Linked DNA regions of Homo sapiens: region 1 is linked to region 2. The links are contacts of gene promoters, found by promoter capture Hi-C in human tissues and cell types (Jung and others, 2019). All regions are on one chromosome and are shown on one strand. Each heading gives the region's core, a stretch centred on a gene start or on the middle of the fragment in contact. The rest is flanking DNA. Distances are from core to core; before and after follow the strand shown.

Evidence for each region. Contacts are between HindIII fragments. The study calls those that stand out against the background at their distance.
Region 1: a fragment that was not itself captured here is called in contact with the fragment with the promoter of GNAI1 in region 2 in 1 of the 25 tissues and cell types used here (liver).

Annotation. Positions count from the first base shown.
Region 1 is chr7:80,167,254-80,170,935 of GRCh38, reverse strand. All of the region lies in intron 1 of GNAI1 (G protein subunit alpha i1), which reads right to left. Among named protein-coding and RNA genes, the nearest start is that of GNAI1, 34 kb to the right of the region's middle. The HindIII fragment of the contact is 9,772 bases long and covers 1-3,682 here.
Region 2 is chr7:80,133,271-80,136,959 of GRCh38, reverse strand. GNAI1 (G protein subunit alpha i1) reads right to left here and starts at 2,129. Exons shown (of 8, transcript NM_002069.6): 1 at 1,682-2,129. The coding sequence starts at 1,799. The HindIII fragment of the contact is 3,503 bases long and covers 1,937-3,689 here.

The DNA.
Region 1 (3,682 bases), core at 57-2,556, 35 kb before region 2:
TGTGAAAAATGTCTATCTTAGAATTAATGAAATACACTATGTCCCTTTGATCCATCATCACTAATGGAGCAAACTGCCAGGTTAGAGTTTCTAATATGGTTTGGGTCTGTGTCCCCAGCCAAATCTCATGACAAATTGTAATCCCTAATGTTGGAAGTGGAGCTGGTGGAAGGTGACTGCATCATGGGGGTAGATTTCCCCTTTGGTGCTGTTCTGGTGATAGTGAGTGAGTTATCTGAGATCTGGTTTCTTACAAGTATATATCACCTCCCGCCTCTCTCTTCCTCCTACTCCAGTCATGCAAGACATACCTGCTTCCCCTTCGTGTTCTACCATAACTGAAAGTTTCCTGATGCCTCCCAGCCATGCTTCTTGTACTGCCTGCAGAACTGTGAGCCAATTAAAACTCTTTTCTTTATAAACTACCCAGTCTCAGGTATTTCTTGATAGCAGTGCAGGAATGGACTAATAAGGCCTCCATTAGGGATTTTGTACACTTGAGTTTTCAGAGAGGTTAATAAACATGAAAAGATGATCAATAACATTAGTCATCAGGGAAATGGAAATCAAAACCACAATAAAGGTACTACTTCACACCCACTAGGATGGCCATAATAAAAAGGTAGACAATCCAAGTATTGCTGAAATGTAGAAGAATTATGGAATCTTCATACACTGCTTGCTAGGAATGTAAATGGTACAACCACTTTGGAAAACACTCTGGCATTTATTCAAAAGGTTAAACACTCAATCCTACATACATACACAACAAAAATGAAATATACTCACAGGCAAAAAGTTGTACATGAATGTTTATAGCAGCATCATAATAGCAAAATGGTGGAAACAAGACAACTGTCCATCAACGGATAAAGAGGTAAACAATGTAGCCCGTCTGTACAATGGAATTACTCAGCTATGAAAAAGAACAAAGTACTGATACATGTGACAATGTAGAGGAACCTTATGAACATTATTATGCTCAGTGAAAGAATCCAAAGATCGTATTATATGATTCCATTTATACGAAATGTCCAGAAATGTCAAATCTATAGAGACAGAACGTAGACCAGTGGTTGAGTAAGGGTGTGGGTTTTGTGGGAAATGAGAAGTGACTGGTAAAGGTCATGAAATTTTTGGTGGTAATATAAATATTCCAAAATTGATTATGGTAATGGCTGCACGACATTATGCCTAAACTTGAAAATTATGGAAATATACTTTAATGATTTTTGGTGAATTATATCTCAATAAAACTGTCTTTAAAAGTTAATAAAATTTGGTAATCAATAATCAACAAGATAATTTGGGAATGACACTTAAAAACCTGATTATAGACATTTCAATGACTTCCCTTCCATGAAGTCATCCTGAAACACTAACACCTGGTTACTTGCTAAGAGCAAACTGTTCCTAAATGGAACCTTCATTCCACCTCCTCTTCTATTGTGTAGCATTTCTGAATACACAATTTGCTGAAAGACTACTGATTTTATATAAAATAGAAGTCCAAAGATTTTACCTAATAGATAGGGGTGGTGTTTGATATGAGAAAATGATACATGTCTATTACTTTAAAATGATACTAGAAATACAAAAGGATTCCCTCAGGAGGAAATTTTAGCCTATAAGTCTCCAACTTGCAAACGTTAAAAGGTTTTAGGCCTTTTAACAGTCACAACAGAACTTTATTAAAGAGAGCAGAGGCAAGTGGATGGAAAACCACCGCAAAAGCCACGTGTAGACTACGGAATCTAACTACAATTGTCATCTGTCAAGACACAGTTCTTACCCCCTATTTTAAATCTAAGAACATTTTAAAGGGGAAAATCATAGTTTATGACAAAATCAAAAGAATCAGGGACAGAAGTACAGAAAGAAGAGTAATTAGAATATTATTAGTTACATTTAAGGGACAGAACAAGCAACATTAAAGAAACAAAATGAAGCGTAAGTTTCTGGCAACAGAGGCAATATATAGGTCCTGTAACATAAAAAGACAGTCAACCTAACATCATCAAAAAGAAAAACCTGTAATAAAATATTTTTAGTCAAACCAGTAGGGTAAATTTTTAGAAACGTAGGATAGTGGTTGTCAGGAGCTGGGAATGAAGAAGCAATGGGGATTTATTATTTAATTGGTAAAGAGTTTTAATTTGGGATGATGTAGAAGTCCCAGAGATGGACACTGGTGATGGTGAACAACAATGTGACTGTACTTAATGCCACTGAACTGTACACTTAAAAATAATTGGCCAGGCGCGGTGGCTCACGCCTGTAATCCCAGCACTTTGGGAGGCCAAGGCAGGCAGATCACAAGGTCAGATCGAGACCATCCTGGCTAACACGGTGAAACCCTGACTCTACTAAAAATACAAAAATTAGCCGGGCGTGGTGGCGGGCACCTGTAGTCCCAGCTACTCGGGAGGCTGAGGCAGGAGAATGGTGTGAACCCAGGAGGCGGAGCTTGCAGTGAGCCGAGATCGTGCCACTGCACTCCAGCCTAGGTGACAAAGTGAGACTCTGTCTCAAAAATAAATAAATAAATAAATAAAATAATTAAAATGGTGAATATTATGTATATTTTGTCGGAATTTTTAAGTGAATCAGATGTTCTAGTTATGGCCTTTGTATGCATGGGGGGGCTTGTTTCTAATACATTTCACAGTAATCTTTTAAAAACCGAGTAAATGAGTAAAAAGAGGGTTAAGTACATGACTAGAGATTTCTAGAGCACCTGTCAAATGCCATTTCTTGTATATTCTCTAGTCTGAGGCAGCACCTAGGGCTTCAAGTTGCAAGTTGAAGTTCTCATGGAGTCAGCTAAGGGCAATGATTCTCAAAAAGGATAGCGCTAGCCCAGGAACAGTTTAATGGGAATTTGTGGGAACATTTTTGGTCATTGGTGTGGTTGGGTATACTACTGTGATATACAGAAGAATCCCATCAACAGAGTACTTTCCATGTCCTGCACAATTTGCTAATGACCTATATTTTGTTGGTGAAAAATCGTAACTTTATAATATCTGAATCTACTACCTAATTCAATTTTCCACATAAACACAAAGACTTTTTTTGCATGATTTTGATATGTGTTGACTTTTTCCAGCAATGCAACTACTGCATAAAAGAGAGAAGACTGTAATCCTTGTCATTTGGAAATTTCAGTAAAGTTGAACACCATTTCTGCATGCCATATTCTCAATGGCACATCTATTGCAGTTTGCATGTACAGTGAACTATAAATGATTCTATATAAGGAAACAAGCATCCAACTTTTATAAAGACACAGTTGTGGCTGAGCATTTACATACTGAAAAACGGGATAAATTACTTTTATTTCTCTAATATATTGCAGATGGGCATATTATAGTGGTTTTTAGTAAATATATGAAAATAGGTTACTATTATCTACAAATTTTGTTTCGGAATATTATAGGGGGCATTAAAATTATATTACAAAAGTGAGCATCGGGTCTGGCAGGATGGGAGCTACTACTCCAGGTGAAGTAAAATACGAAAATCTTTTCCTTTGCCAGACTTCTGACTCCATCTTCACTTTTGTGACACTGACCACCATCTTAAGCACAGAAAAGTGAACCTAACTGCATACGCCTCCTGCTATACATACTACAGACGCTACAAATGTCTACATTCCACATAATGCTGAGCATTGCAAGGA
Region 2 (3,689 bases), core at 880-3,379:
ATGCCAACCGTGCTAAGATCAAGACACACTGATCTCTTCTGAACATAAGCAAAAGCCTACTCCTGGGACCTTTATTCTAGTCCATCCCTAACAGTCACCTAATTAAAGGACAAAACACCACCACCAGATGATTCATTTTTCAATTGCTTTAAACATGGTGGATGGCTGGCTCAAACTAAGAGTCACACAGAAATACACTGAAACAACGTATCACACCAGGAGAGCAAAAACTGCAAGAAAAAAACTTCTTAATCCTCTTATTTCATATCTATCTCACATTCAATTCACAAGAGAAGTACATACACTAACCTCATCAAAACACAGTATTTCTTATTAATGTAAAAACTTAGGCAAACAACATTAACTGAGAAAGATTTATGTTGGGGGCGACAGGGTGAAAAAAGCCACCCAGGTCTTTAAAATGCAAAGTTATTTCACAGTTTACTTGCAAAATGACTCAGATCATTATTACTTTTAGTCATGCCAACTTTGCTGCTCCCAAGCCTACTAGTAATGGAGAAAAAAAACCCACCATTTTTTCTGCAGTCATTAAACCAATGAAACAGAAGCTTACTGAAAACAGGTTTGTGCAACATTTCTTTTTTATTATAACTGGTATAAAAATACAAGCAGTCCTTGGAAATGCAAATGAAGATTCTGAGAAATTTTTCATCTATCTAAATACCTAGAGTGTGAGAAGAAAACATGCAAACAAAAGAAAACCCTAACTCACGAATCTTAACCTGTAAAGATTTTCCTAATGCTTCCCTCAGTGAAAACCCTGGTTTACTCTTTATTTTCTTCCCCGTCAAACATTTGGAAAAGACCTCCACGTAGCGTTTCACGAACAGAACAGTGCTAAGAACAAATAAAAGCCTTGCGTGTACCTGGCAAATCTCATTCATCAGAAACGGTGGCAGCGGAGACAGAACCCTGTTGTCTGGCGTGACCCTCTCGCTCTTTCACAGCAGTTTTCACCACTCGAGTATCTGCCTTGCCTACTACTAAAGCAAAGCTTCCCAACCCCACTTGGGTGGCTTCCATGCCCCCACAGCAAGAAAAATCAAGCATCCAGCGCAGCCTTTTCTCAGCGCAGGGGGAATGTAATCAGCGCTCCTTGACCACTTAAGGAGTCGCCATAGGAAGTTAACAGGAAAGACGCTTCAGCCCCATCTCAGAGGCCCCACAAAAGGTGCACTGATTTCACCAAACGTGGCACTCTGGGCATGAGAAAACCACAGTCGAAACACAACCTACACCGCACACGAAGAAGGGTTTTCCGGGAGGGGGTTGGTGGCGCGGGGGGGGGGGTGTTTTCATTTTCTAGCCGCGAATGCCCCTTCATCTTTACAAGGCTGAGCTAAACTTCAAAGCAAAGGGTTTCCACGCGACCCGCCGCCTCGGACTCGCGCCTGGGCTCTTTGCTGGGTCGCACGAAAGCATCCGAGTGAAGTGACGCGCCCGCCCCGCCGCGGGGAGTCCTCGCCCGCCGGGGCGGAGAGAGACCAGACACCGGGAGAGGGGGACCCGCCTTGCCTCCGCACCGCCGGACCCAGCTCCCGCTCAGAAGCCTCCTCGGGCGCTTCCTCCCCCTTCCCTCCGGGTTTCCAAACGCCGAGGGCCGCGCAGCGCCGCACCCGGTCCCCCGCCGACCCCCGGGCCCCGACCCGGCCGCCCTTACCGAGCAGCAGCAGCTTGACCTCGCGCGCCGCCTTCTCGCCGTCCTCACGGAGGTTGCGGTCGATCATCTTACTCCGCTCCACCGCCGCCTTGTCCTCGGCGCTCAGCGTGCAGCCCATGGTGCCGAAAGCGAGAGCCTGCCGCCGCTCCCTCCGCGCCCGAGTGCGGGCTCCAAGCACAGGGGAATCCTTTCTCTCTCCTAGCGGGCGTTCGAACGCCTCCCGACGGGGGCCACGCCGCCCCCACCACTTCCTAAGCGGAGTCGAGGGAGACGCTGTCCGCAAAGGGGCAGACAGCAACGGGCGGCTGTTCCTCACGACCAGGCTCTGCTTCCCGGCCCGGCTCAGCGCCCCCAAGTCCCGGGTTTGGGGTTTTGAATCTCTGGGTACAGTGGCCGCTGCACTCCCGCCGGTGGCCGCGCCGCAGCCTCGCCAAGCCCAGCCGAGCTCGGCCTCCGCGCGCCGCCGCGGCCCCGCCCCTGCCCGCCCCTCCCACCACCCCGCGACCACTCCCAGAGCGCGCGCCCGCGCACGTGCCCTCGGACAGCGCCCCCCGGCCCCGGACCCCGGCGCCGCGCCACCACTGAGGGCCTGGCGCCCCCTGGCAGCGTCCCCGGGGCGCGCCACTGCCCCGCGGGGCTGTGGCCTTCTGCCCTGGGCGGGAGTGGGGTAATTTCTTTCCGTTTACTCACACGGAGGGAGCTGTGCGTACCTGCCCCTTCGGGTGGGGGTGGGAGAGCTGCCAAAGTTGCCGAAAAAAGCCAGTTCTGGGCGTTTGAGCATGCCCAGCGCCGGCAGCCACGCAAGGTTTTTCAAAATGCAAATCCCTGTCGGCTGGTTTCAGGGCCGTGAGAAACAGGGAACTGGGGAAGGAATGGAGCCTGGTGAAACCAGAGATGGGCACAGTGGAGAACAGGAAAGTCGGGGGAGGGGACTAGAAAAGGGCACCAAGGTCACTTTCTTCCTACCTTTTGCTTCTCTTTCCTTCTTCCTATCCCTCCCTCTTTCCTTGCACTCTCACGTTTTTCACAAGAACGCATTTTGAAGGATTTCCTCGTAACCTAAAAAAAATGGAAGACAAATAATCAAAAGTATTTTTAAATGACAAGAGCAATAAAACACACCCACACAAGCCAATCTCCACATCGTAGCAGATCTCCTCTAGAGCAGCACATAAGCTTCCATGCCAAATTTGGAGCCAATATTTATGACCGTGTTTGTAACTCCTGTACCATTGGGCATGCCATTTTTACAGGCCTTAGCTTCTTTGCCCATAAAATGAGGAGTGGATCTATGGTGCTATCTCCCCATCCTTCCAGCTGTAACAATCGGCGGAGATAAGTTCCTGTGGCCCGCGGGAGGCATTGCTACTCAGCACCCAATGAATGAGCAGAGGCTTAAGATCTCATCTCTCCCTGTCAGTTGCACTACACCTTTCCCCTACAGATATCACAGGAAGCGTTAACTGATTAGAAAATGGGGCTGGTAGCAAGGAAAAACATGGTCCTTGATGTACTAAAAATTGGAACATGCTCCCTGGTTTTCATCTGGAAATCTTATTCTCTAAAAATCATTTGGGAAAACTGGGCTTGAGTTTTCCAAGGTGAGGCTGAACTGATGATACAAGCAGAATAGCTTTCGAGTAGGTCACTGAGACCACGCTTGTGAGCTAGCAGAGACTGAGTTGCCTCCTTATGGGACATGTCCTTTCCTGTTCTCCTATGGGAGTCACACCACCTGCTGGGCTGATGAGATGCAATTTCAAGATCTGCCTCAACTATAATCTTTTGTAATATAACAACAAAAAGGAACAATCTTTAAATGTACTTAGTCACCTTCTACACTGTAATTCTAGGCACTCTAAATGCTAATGTGTATCAGAACTCTGGAATTAAACTTAAGGAAATCAAATTTCAACACACTGTGTATTAGCCATTCTTAATTATCTTTTATGGTGAGTCTTTCCTATTAAGTTCGGACCAGAGTGTGGAACCAACAGTTTCAGCAAAA